2 separate regions of the Homo sapiens genome follow, and region 2 is linked to region 1. Evidence: promoter capture Hi-C in human tissues and cell types (Jung and others, 2019). All regions are on one chromosome and are shown on one strand. The core of a region is centred on a gene start or on the middle of the fragment in contact, and the rest is flanking DNA. Distances in the headings are between cores, read along the strand shown. Region 1 holds the start of ZNF843 (zinc finger protein 843). Region 2 holds the start of ZNF267 (zinc finger protein 267).

Evidence for each region. Contacts are between HindIII fragments. The study calls those that stand out against the background at their distance.
Region 2: a contact is called between the fragment with the promoter of ZNF267 here and the fragment with the promoter of ZNF843 in region 1, in 1 of the 25 tissues and cell types used here (H1 embryonic stem cells).

The regions. Positions count from the first base shown.
Region 1 is chr16:31,437,641-31,444,203 of GRCh38, reverse strand. ZNF843 (zinc finger protein 843) reads left to right here and starts at 1,415. Exons shown (of 2, transcript NM_001136509.3): 1 at 1,415-1,568. RefSeq lists a silencer at 1,399-1,608 and an enhancer at 993-1,788. The HindIII fragment of the contact is 16,324 bases long and covers 1-6,563 here.
Region 2 is chr16:31,869,507-31,875,251 of GRCh38, reverse strand. It overlaps ZNF267 (zinc finger protein 267), which reads right to left and starts at 1,445. Exons shown (of 4, transcript NM_003414.6): 1 at 1,283-1,445. The coding sequence starts at 1,285. RefSeq lists silencers at 1,164-1,243, 1,394-1,443 and an enhancer at 1,330-1,624. The HindIII fragment of the contact is 15,903 bases long and covers 1-5,745 here.

The DNA of each region.
Region 1 (6,563 bases), core at 166-2,665:
TCTTCCCAGCAACCTTATGAGGTAAGTAGGTGCTGTTATTATTGCCATGTTACAGATGAAGAAATTGAGATACAGAGATTAGATTCACCAAACTGCCCAAACTCCCACAGCTATTAACTGGTGGAACCAGGAATCAAACTCAGTAGGGTGTGCATATAATATACTTTGGGTGGTGGTGGTTGTTGTTGTTGTTGTTGTTGTTGTTGTTGTTGTTGTTGTTTTGAGACAGGGTTTCACTCTTTCACCCAGGCTGGAGTGCAGTGGCATGATCTGCAACCTCTGCAACACTGCAACCTCTGCCTCCTGGGTTCAAGCGATTCTCCTGCCTCAGTCTCCTAAGTAGCTGGGATTACAGGTGTGCACCACCATACCCGGCTAATTTTTGTATTTTTAGTAGAATAATTTTTGTATTTTTAGTTTCACCATGTTGGCCAGGCTGGTCTCGAACTCCTGACCTCAACTGATCCACTACCCTTGCCCTCCCAAAGTGCTGGGATTACAGGCGTGAGCCACCGCGTCTAGCTTTTTTTTTTTTTTTTTTTTTTTTTAAGAGACATGGTCTTGCTCTGTTGCCCAGGCTGGAGTGCAGAGGTGTCACCATAGCTCACTGCACCTTCAACCTCCTGGGCTCAAGTGATCCTCCCACTTAAGCATCCTGAGTAGCTGGGACCACAGGCGCCCACCACCAAGTCCGGCTAAATTTTAATTTTTTTTTGTAGAGATGGGGGTCTCGCTTTGTTGCCCAGGCTGATCCCTAACTCCTGGCCTCAAGCAGTCCTCCCGCCTTGGCCTCCCAAAGTGTTGGGATTACAGGCGTGAGCCACTGCGCTCAGTCTGTGTATCCTGATTACTAAATTTTGGGGTGTCTCCTTAAATTCTGTGCCAGAAGCCAGTGCCTCACTCGCCCTACCCTAATTCCACCCATCCCGGTGACCCAATGTCCCCGTTCAACCTGCACCATGGCGCTTCCCAGCCCCGCTCCTAGCGCCTCCTCCCGCCCCTAGGGGTCGCCGTCGCGCCGTCATTCCCTTCCTTCGATGCCCGGGCGAGACGCGCAAAAGGTGGGAGGAGGAGAGGCCCGCGTGTGTGCATGCGCATGGCGCGGACTCCCTCATCCTGGTCAGGGAGTGGAGGGGTTGGGTCTCAGGCAGCTGTTAGCGGAGTCCTCAGTGTCTCGGTCGTTTCTCCCTGTCTTGGTGAGGGCCAGGGGACAGGTCGGGGCAGTATTTGGGGGAAGCGAGAGGCAAGCAGGGCGGGCTGGATACGGAGCGCCCTATGACTGAGGTTAGGGAGGACGCCCGAGACCCCCGGCATCCTAGTCCTGGGCCGTGGGCTCCGGACGCCGGGCCAGGACGCCTCCAGCTCCCAGGGTCCCTTGCGGGGACCATGTTTCCCCACAGGCCCCGCGGCTGCCGGGTCCTCGCCACGTCCCCTTCCCGGAGCTACGCGCCCGGCTGGGTTCCGATCCGCCGTGTCTCTCGGGGGCGGCTCGCGGGGCAGGGGCGCTCCCGGCTCGGCCGCACGCCCAAGTGTCATGCGGGAGGTACGCGGGCACGGGACCTCACCGGGTAAGAGCGAGCGAAGGGGCCGGGCGCGGTGGCTCACGCCCGTAATCCCAGCACTTTGGGAGGCCGAGGCGGGCGGATCACGAGGTCAGGAGTTCGAGACCAGCGTGGCCAATATAGTGAAATCCCTTCTCTACTAAAAATGCAAAAATTAGCCGGGCGTGGTGGCGGACGCCTGTGGTCCCAGCTACTCGGGAGGCTGAGGCAGGAGAATCGCTTGAACCCGGGAGGCAGGGGTTGCAATGAGCCGAGATCTCGCCACTGCACTCCAGCCTGGGGAACACAGCGAGACTCCGTCTCAAAAATAAATAAATAAATAAATAAATAAATAAATAAAATCGAGCGAAGGGCCGCAGCCCGGGCCCACCGCCTCCACCTGAACACGCGCCTCCGCCGAGCCCCTCGACCCCGCGCCAGGCGAGGCTTGGTGGGGCGTTCCGTGGACCCCACACGCACGTCGGTGTTATCAGGAGGGAAGGGGCGGGCCAACACCTCCACCGCCTTTGCGGCCGGCCGTCCACCCTCCATTCTCCTGCTGGAGCCGTTTCCCAGCGATTCTCCGGCAGTGCTGGCTGCAGCACACCCGGCCCGCCTTAAAATCTCAGCCGCCTCCCCCGTCCCGGAGTCCTCCCCTGGGTTCTGTCCTTAACTGCATCACCGACCCCACATACACACAGGCATGAACACCCATCTTTTCACACGCCCCGTTTGCTTTCTCAGAACTTAGCAGATACTCTTAAGCTGAGAGGGTTTGGTGAGGTTAAAATTTATCTTGTGACATTGAGTCCAGCAGTTCAGAGCCTTGAACACCTCAGTACATGGCCTTGACCTTAGTTTATTACTTCTGTATTCTGCCGGGCGCTGCGGCTCACGTCTGTAATCCCAGCACTTCGGGAAGCCAAGGCGGGAGGATCGCTTGAGCCCAAGAGTTGGAGAGTAGCGTAGGCAACAATGAGATCCTGTCTACACTAATTATTTAAAAAAAAAAAATTAGCCAGGTGTGGTGGTGCACACCTGTGATCCCAGCTACTCAGGAGGCTGAGGGAGGACCGCTTGAGCCCAGGAGGTCGAGGCTGCAGTGAGCCATGATGGTGCCACTGCACTCCAGCCTGGATGATAGAGGGAGAGCCTGTCTCTAATACTAATAATAATCAATAATAATACTGTACGGTGTGCCCATTACTCAGGAGGCACTGTAGTAGAAGGATAAGCTGTGGCGGTAACTGAGGATAAACAGATAACCATTTAGCTAAAAAGGTTCTTAACCTTGGCTGTATGTTGTTACTCCTGGGTGCAGCACAGGCAAAATAATTTTGAAAGCTCCCAGGTAATCCTAATGTGCAGCTAGCACTGAGAACCACTGCTTTAACCCCTGAGGAAGGTAGGTAGGGCCTAGGGTGGCCCGAAGCACTGGGCCGGGCACCTTCAGTAGGGAGCAATCTCAACCCTTTATCCCTGTGAGTTACTCATATTGTAACATTTTCTGTGGGTTCCATGCTGTGAAAACAGTAAGCACTGCCCTACAGTAACAAGCATGCTTGACAGCCCTTGTGTCAGATCATCCATTGGAAGAGAGGGGAATCAAATCACAAAAGGCCAACTGGAAAACACACTCATCTAGGGAAGAGATTAGGAAAGCCTGGGCAAGGCTGATGACAGGGAATGTAAGAGAGGAGTTATAGTCACAGGAAGAATGTTGAGTGATAGTAGAAAACTAGATGGAAATTTCTGGCAGCCTGTGGTACTTTTAATTGGCACAAGGACTGATTTCGGTAACAGGTCCCCCTGACTCCCAAAGGAGAGCTGCGGGAATTGCTGTGGTCTTCCTAGGGCCCTCAAGACCATGAATGGGCTGGAGTCTGGACCAGTCTCAGGCACTAGCAAATTGGACAGTAGCTCATTCATACTGGTATAAGAGCTGCTGCTTTATCGAGGCCAGAGGCCCTTTCTTATATGGGGCAGCAGCTGCGCTCCTGGGAATGATTCCTACATAAAAGATTCCACATGGAAAAAAAATAAGCTCTGTGCATTCCATGAAGATGCTCATTACAGCATTATCTCTACTAATGATCTATTCCAATAATAAAGGAAATGAATACAATATAATATGGTATTTCAAACAAAGCCATTAAAATAGATCATTATGAAAGAATGTGAATGAATGAGAAATGTTCATAAGTTAAAAAAATGCTTATTTTTCAGAGAGCAAAATTAGACTCGTCTGTTGCTTGGAATGGCTTCCTCTTGCTCTGTGTCTAAACTATGATTATGGAGTAGTTAAAATGCATATGCATGTTGGCAAAGCCTGAATAAAATATGCAAACGTGAAAATATTTTTTGTAGAGGAGATGAAATTATGGAGGAAGGAGTGTGTCTATTTCAAAATTGTCCTAATGAGAAGTATTGTGGCATAGTAGTTCAGAGGAAGCTCCCTGGAGCCAAAAATTTTTTTACCGTATATATGGCTTTTCTAAATTACTTAAACTTTCTATGCCTCAGTTTCTTCATCTATAAAATGGGGTAATCGTTAGTATCTTGGAGAGTTGTTGTGAGGTCTAACCAATATGTGGAAACTCTTAGAATAGTACCTGGCATGTAGTAAGTACACTGTAAGTCCTGGCTATTTCAACTCCGTATTATTTATAGCTTAATAAAATATTTTAAAGATAGTTGGCCAGTCAGCACTGATACTCCTGTCTACCTGTGTTACATCTCAGAAGAGGCTTAGCCTATCTGTGCTGACACTTACTGAAGTATAAGTTATATATAAAACACACCCACTTTAAGTGTACAGGTTGCTGGTTTTTGGTGAATGTGTACACGGGCATAACCATCATCACATTCAGGGTGCAGAACTTTGCCGTCACCCTCTCATGCCCCGTGCAGTCAGCTGCTCTCTCCCTGACCCAGCCCCAGAGAACCACTGGTCTACTTTCTGCCCCTATGAGTAAGTTTTGCTTTTTGTAGAAATGGAATTTCACAGAAATTGAATCATATAGTATGTATTCTCTTGTGTCTGGCTTCTCTGGTTTAACATAATTTTGAGATTCATCCATTGCTTGCAGGTAACAGCAGTTCCTCTTTGTTGCTAGTATTCTGTTACATGGGTAAACCACACTTTATTCTTCCACCCATTGATGGACATTTGGATGTTTCTATCTTATGCCTATTATGAATAAAGCTGATATGCACATTTGTGAAAAAGTCTTTGTGTGGACATATGTTTTTATTTTCCTTGAGTAAATCCTAAGAGTAGAATTATTGAGTCATGTGGTAAGTGTACATTTAATTTACTGTTAACCAAAACTGGTTTCCAAAATGCCCAGGCCATTTTATATTTCCCCAGCAATGTGTGAGACTCCATATCCTCAGGCAACAGTTAGCACCTTCAGTCTGCTCGATTTTAGTGGGTGCATAAGGGCACTCCTTGTGGTTTTAATTTGCATTTCTCGGGTGACTGATGATAGCACATCACTTTTTTTGTATCATTATACTTTTAAGTTCTAGGGTACATGTGCACAACGTGCAGGTTTGTTACATATGTATACATGTGCCATGTTGGTGTGCTGCACCCATTAACTCGTCATTTACATTAGGTATATCTGCTAATGCTATCCCTCCCCCCTCCCCCCACCCCACAACAGGCCCCGGTGTGTGATGTCCCCCTTCCTGTGTCCATGTGTTCTCATTGTTCAATTCCCACCTATGAGTGGGAACATGCGGTGTTTATTTTTTTGTCCTTGGGATAGTTTGCTGAGAATGAGCACATCACTTTTAAATGGTAGCTCACTTCTAGGGAAGGAAGGAGAGCGATGAGTCAAAAGAAGTTCCACTGTTTTTGAGCTTAGGTGTCCAAGAGAATAAAACTGGTGCCACCAACAAAAGTGAAATTAGGAGTCAGTGATTTTTTGGCATAGGGGTATTAAATTTGAAGTGATGGCAGGATGTTAAGGGGGAAATAACTGGGTGGCAGCATGCTTTGCAGGCTTGGAGCTCAGTGGGAGGTCAGGTCCTGAGATAAGAGCCAAGTATCCGCTGAGAGGTGAAGCACAAACGGGGAGAGAGAGAGAGATGAGACCCAAGGATCAAGCCAGGGCTCAGAGTGGCCAGAAGCATCTGTTCCCCAGTCCCCATTTCCAAGTAATGGAAAATCCAGACTGACAGGCCTAATAGGCCTAAAAATAGATAAAATTAGCCCACTTATATATGAGCCACTGGAATACTTTCTAGTCCTATTGCAAACTCTACTCTTGGCTACTTTGATTGTTAAAATTGTAAATTAAAAGTTATCTATACCCTTTTTAAAAAAGAGTTTCAATATGGTTTGTGACAATCAGTTAATTATCTTTGTGGCCTGAGGGGCCCCCTTCTTTTAATCACCTTAACCAATAAAGCAATAATGTCTTTCTGAAGTTGATTCTTTTTGATGGTTTGTGTTTGGATGTTCAAGGTTAATGAGGAAATGATCCTTACCACGCTTTTGTAATTTTAATACAGACAGGGTCTTGCTTTGTTGCCCAGGTTAGTCTCCTGGGCTCAAGGATCCTCTGGCCTCAGCCTCCCAAAGTGCTAGGATTATAGGCATGAGCCACTGCGCCCAGCCTCTTGCTACACTTTCATTCAGGATAAAGATGGTAATATCCAAGACTACTGAAAGTCTTATAACCCCAATCCAAATTTTAAAATAAATCTTACTATTAAGAAGCATTGATTGGCCATGTGCAGTGGCTCACACCTGTAATCCCAGCACTTTGGGAGGCTAAGGTGGGTGGATCATGAGGTCAGGAGTTTGAGACCAGCCTGACCAACATGGTGAAATCCTGTCTCTACTAAAATACAAAAAAAAATTAGCCGGCAATGGTGGCAGGCGCCTGTAATCCCAGCTACTCGGGAGGCTGAGGCAGGAGAATCGCTTGAACCCGGGTGGCAGAGGTTGCAGTGAGCCGACATAGCTAGCACCACTGCACTCCAGCCTGGGTGACAGAGCAAGACTCCCTC
Region 2 (5,745 bases), core at 196-2,695, 430 kb before region 1:
CTCCAGGAGACATGGCCACTGTGGGCATCTTGAGTCATCCCAGACAGTTCTGAAATTCAGGAACAGGAAAAGACTGGATAGAGGGTGGCTATACAGGGCCCTGTAAAGTTTCCAAAGCAAAACCTCAAGTCAAAAGACATTCTTTCCGATAACGTGTCTGTGCCTGGGGAAGATGAATGAAAAAGAGGCACAGTTTTTTTTGCAGTGGAGTGTCAGGGATTTTTTATTCTCTGCTTTCCTCTCACGTGAAATGTATGCCAAAAAAACACAAATCTTTAAAAAAGTGTCATCCACTGCTCTGTGAAATCATGATTAATGAGTAAAATACTGTCTGAAATGTACAATAAATGACCAATAGTTAAGAATGTGAACTGGAGAGGGGAAGTTGGCCTTTGGAAATGTCGGGAAGGAACTGGAAATTTAATATTTTATTGCAAGCCCAGTTAGACTGGGGGAACACAGTGGTGGACTTGAGACTCTGCGTGCTACACGTTAGGAAAGCGCAGGGGGAAAACCAGTTCCCCTGGGCAGTGTTAAGATGATTAATGAGCAGGCGATTATACGGAAGTGGTTATAGTGCCCCAGGTTTCTAGGGAGAAAAACCAAAACCAAACTCAAATGCTTTTCTTGTAAATTACAACTTTAGGGGAAAACAAAATTCAGACTTAACGAACCACAAAGCTCCAATTCACCTCCACCTGCATAGTCTAAATAAGGCAACTACAAACTGTAACCCATCGGTTAATTTGGTCTGCTTCCTCATGCACCTTATAAAAACCTTTCCTTCAAGCCCCTCTGGGGATCTCCGAACCACAAACCAGGACTGCAGGCTTCCCATGTCACAAATCGCTATTTGCTCAAATTCTTCAACGTTTTAACAGTGACTCCCTTTAATTCTTAAGAGGAGTAGTGACTGAGGACCCCACAGGGCACGGTTTCTTCCCACACACCGAACCTGGGTCTCCCCTGAGACGCTCCCGTCCTCACCGCACAATCTGGGGGAGACGCGGGGCTGCGACGCGGAGCTGCCCAGAGAGGGCTCCGGCCAGGGACGAGGTCGCTCTGCGGGGTCGGGATGGGACAGGACACGCGGGGTCCCGGCTGCCGGCCTGGCCGCCATCTTGCAGCGGAGGGGACCGAGGGCCGAGCTGCACCAGTTGGGACTCGGGGCCCAGACCCCGAGGCTGACTGCGGGGAGGCCCGGGTGCCCCTACAGCGGGTTCCCGCCGCTTCCGACCACCGCCCTCCCTCCCTCTGGGGACCCCCGACCCCGCACACTCACCATTTCCCAGCTTCCGGGATGCCCTGGCGTCTTAGCTACGAATCTCCCAGTGCCTGCAAGTCGCAGAGCAACAGAGGTTCTGTTTATTCTCAGAACGCGAAGCCGCCTGGGCCTCCCAGAACGAAAGACTCGGAGCTGTGGCGAGGAGACCCGAGCTCTAACTGGAGCCGACGAAGGCCCCCGCCAAATCCCGGAAGCCGCCCCTGCTCTCCGGCTTCACTCCTGATTGGACGGTTTCCACTCCAGCGCCCCTGATTGGATAAAGCTCCATGCCCCGCCCCCTCATTATTAGTGCCTTTTTTTTTTTTTTTTTTGAAAGGGAGACTGGCTCATTGAGGTGGGGCCGCCTGCTGCGGGTATTACAGCTAATTAAGGGGTGAGCTGCGACTTGAAATACACTTGCTCTTTCCCTTACCTGGTTCTGCTTGTATAAGACATCTTATTAGCTAATTAAGTTTAAGAAGAAGTATATTTAGACACCTTTAAAGCAAGAAAGACCCTCATCCCGTCCCTTAGCACCTCTCTTACCGCACTGTACCCCACTGCTAACGCCACCGTGGGAGGGGGCCCCTCAGCTGGGAACAGAAGGCCGTACACTTCATTCACGTGTTTTCAATTAGGCCCTCGCATGATACATAGACTGAACCAGTGCAAAAGCATCTTATAGGGGCATGCAGGCTGGGGTCCCAGGAGGATGTTGCGGGCCGTGGTGGAACGTGGAAGAGGGGCTGGCCTATTCTTCTAATCTACAACTCTGCCCGCATCTCCTGGAGTCTGCATCACTGGTAACGGGGCCGCTGACTGTCCGTCTGTCTCTCCTTCTCAATCCCTTCAAGCTCAGGGAAGAAGGGTCCTTGGCAGCGACAGGGCTGGGAGCTCAGTTCCTCTGGGCCGTGCTGGCTCAGGCTCTGTGGCCACGGACTCCTCAGCCCTACCTCTGGTTTTTGCTTTTGTTTTGAGACAGGGTCTCACTCTATTGCCCAGGCTGGTGCAGTGGTGCAGTCATGGCTCACTGCAGCCTCCGGGGCTCAAGCAATCTTCCCACCTCAGCCTCCTGAGTAGCTGGGACTACAGGCACATGCCACCATGCCCGGCTGATTTTTGTATTTTTTGTAGAGATGAGGTTTCACCATGTTGCCCAGGCTGGTCTCCATCTCCTGAGCTCAAGCGATCCTCCCACCTTAGCCTCCCAAGTAACTGGGGCTACAGGTTAATAGTCAGTTCGCCAACTCCTGAGCTCAAGTATTCTGTCTGCTTTGACCTGCCAGAATGCCCTATTCCTGTTTTTCTGGAGTCTTGGAGCTAGTGGCGCTGCAGCACCTCGTAGTCTTCCGGCTGAGTAGATTCTCCTAGTCTTCTGGCTGAGTAGAAGGTGGGAGAGGAGGTGGGTGTCAAACTGGGCCAGGGCCCTCGGCCGCCATCTAGCTTGGTTAAACTCCCACTTGGGACAGATCAGGCTCTGTGCCTTATTCAGTGAGACGTGTGGAACAAATGCTTCCCTCCCCAAAGCAGAAACATCCCTGATTGCTGACAGTCAGGATTCCATGCACTTGTCTTGGCCTGGGGCATGGCTGCCTCTCACCCTCTCACCCAGTTCTAGTCGCTGCACTCTGTGGCCTCCCTGCCACCAGATTAGGTGTAGACAACGGGTGTGGGACAGGGCTGCTGACACCACTGGCTGACCAAACCCCTTTCCCACACTGAAGGGAGAAAAGACAGGAGGTTAGGGGCTCCCAAAGGCAGCACTGCTTGTGACAGCACCACGGGAGTCCTTAGGGCCTACTAAGGGGCTGGGCTGGAACTCAGGATCAACTCTGCCTGACTCCAAAGCCCATGCACCTCCATGGACCTCACAACTCAAGCAGCTTCCCTAGGCCTTTGAAATCCTGGAGATTGACTCTTTTGCGATAGAAGAAAGATTCCTTTTGATTCTCATCCTTCTAGTACTCTTCACAATTGGAAATAATCCCCACCAGAGAATGCTTCTGAAATGTCTTGGAAACATGTAGAATAATTTGGGAAAATGGCTGAAGGCTGAGTTTAAGAAATCAAGGCCTAACATTCTATTTTTCATTTCTTATAGGAGAGATTTGAAAGCACTTATAATGGACTCAATGTGTCTGCAAATTATTTTTGTCCCCTTTCAGTATTTGTAAGCTGTTGATGATTTTCAATACAGATTAACTCAAACTACTGTGACTGAAACAATCTTTTACTCTGAAAGCAAGAGATACAAAGGTATATCTGCTGAGAAGACATTTTTTTCTGCCACAATTTAGCCAAACAGCTGAGTACGTCTTAAAGTCAGCCTTTGATTTCTAACAAGTCAAGCTATTTGCCAAGACCACAGTCAGACCATATGACTTAACTACTTCATTGTCCCAGAATGTTGACCAGACAGATCGAAGCTCTGGGGGTGGAGTGGTGAGAGGACCCACGCTAGCAGGTGGGCAGCCATGGGTCCATATGTGAGAATCACTCATTAGGTGGGGTGTTTTGAGGTCCTGATATTTATGACACAATTAATGTGTATATTACTAAAAGTAAATTATAGAACATTACAAATAATAAATCTATATATAAACTAAACATGTCAGCAATTACAACTACTGTTATTTATCATTATTCTAAGTGTGATCATCATTATTACCACAATTAGAAATAGTAGTTGTGGATGCTGCTGCTGCTGCTGTTGCTGGAGGGATGGTGATAAAAACAGCGAGTAAGGCTCTGCTGCCTCCTTCACCTGCGGCATCGGGAGCTGCTGGCTCACTAGTTTGGTGCACACTCTGGACTTCTTTGGTGAAGCTGCAGCTGAAGAGCCTTCAGGCTCCGCTATGGCAGAATTTGAAGGTGGCAGGTAGGATGGTCCCAGGATGCAGTTGATGTTGAAGAGGTGCACACCACTTAGTGAATGAGTGAAAGCCTTTGGTGAAAGGCAGAGTTTCTACATGACACAGATCAGATTCCATTTTGACTGGGGCCAATCAGTGAAACAGACACATCTGCAGAACTGGAAATGGAGGACAAAGATTCAGTTGATGTGTTCCAGAAGCAGACAGGAGGGTCTACTGAGAACATACTCACTGCTTTACTCCAGAACTCTGTTTCTACAGACCAAGCAGACATTCTCACGTAGAAAATTGCAATATGTTTCCATCACATCTACTGGTCCAGCATCCCTTTCTCTCTTCTTCACTTTCCTGTTCCTCATTCCTTTATTGTACATAAATTATCGGGCGTAGCTGTACAAACATATTGATAATTTTTGTTTGCTTGTTTGTTTGTACTGAATGAACAACGATCATTGATTTCCAATGGCCATTGAGTCATTGGTGTTGAGTGATTTCCAATGAAGACAGCTGAGGGAAAACACTGTTTCTGTGAAAAAGACTCTCTTTCTCCACCAGGGACTGCTCACTCACTGTTTATCTCTATATTCCAGGACTTTAACAACAACAGTATAAAAAATATAGTGATCCTTTAGGTTTGTTGGGGGCAGGAAAAAAAAAGGGGGAATAACCTTTGCATACATTGTTCAATTAGAAAATTTTATTTTTAAAAATATATCATTGTAACGCTAAGAACAATTTTATAACTTTTTAAATGTAGCGGTTACACATAGAACAAATCTGTCCTCACACAGGACTAAGTGACAATTAAAAGAACAGAACGGATTCCAGATATGTTCTTCTTCAAATCCAGGATCTGGTTGTTTAAATACACATCTTGTGTAAAATGAAAAGAAAACATTTAATATATAAATAAAAACAGGAAGTAAAGTTTCTCTAGCCACCAAGTGTGTTGGTTGGACTGAAAATGAGGAAGAAGGGGTTTCCGTCTGCAATAAGTTTGAAGTCCCCCCAGGAGCCAGGGAACTGCCCACACCCTCTAAGGCTGCCCCCTCCTCTTCTGCCTGGAGCAGGGTGCCTGTGAGATTTCCATGCCCTGACCCAGGAGGTACATGGAGGGTGAGAGGTTGTCTGTCTCACACCCAGGCAGACATCCCTGGTCCAGGGCCCTCTGGAAGATATTCCCAGGGTCTCCGTAGGCTGCCAGGGTCACACCCTTCCAGAAAAGTTATATAGGTAAATTAACCCAAGAAGGGGTCAGTCCATGGGTGATACCAAGCCACATTGCACCCTGGATAGAGGGCAACACATCTCATGCAACTGCAAACTACAGTAAAGCTCTATCTGCTGACAAAACCTGAGAGGAAGGAAATGAGACATCCTCCTTATGCTTTGAAGGAAAAAACAACAGGCTAGAAGTGGTTGACTCACGTGTTCATGACTGCCATTGTCAGGGTAAGCTGAGAAGTGCATGAGCTCAGAAAAGGACTGTGCCACATGACAAGCTGGAGGGGGTGTGACAGGAGAGAGAGGAAGATGACAAATAGACTATGGGAAGCAAAATGGAAGTTCCGCTTCATGGAAACATAGTACATTCTTTCCTCACAATGA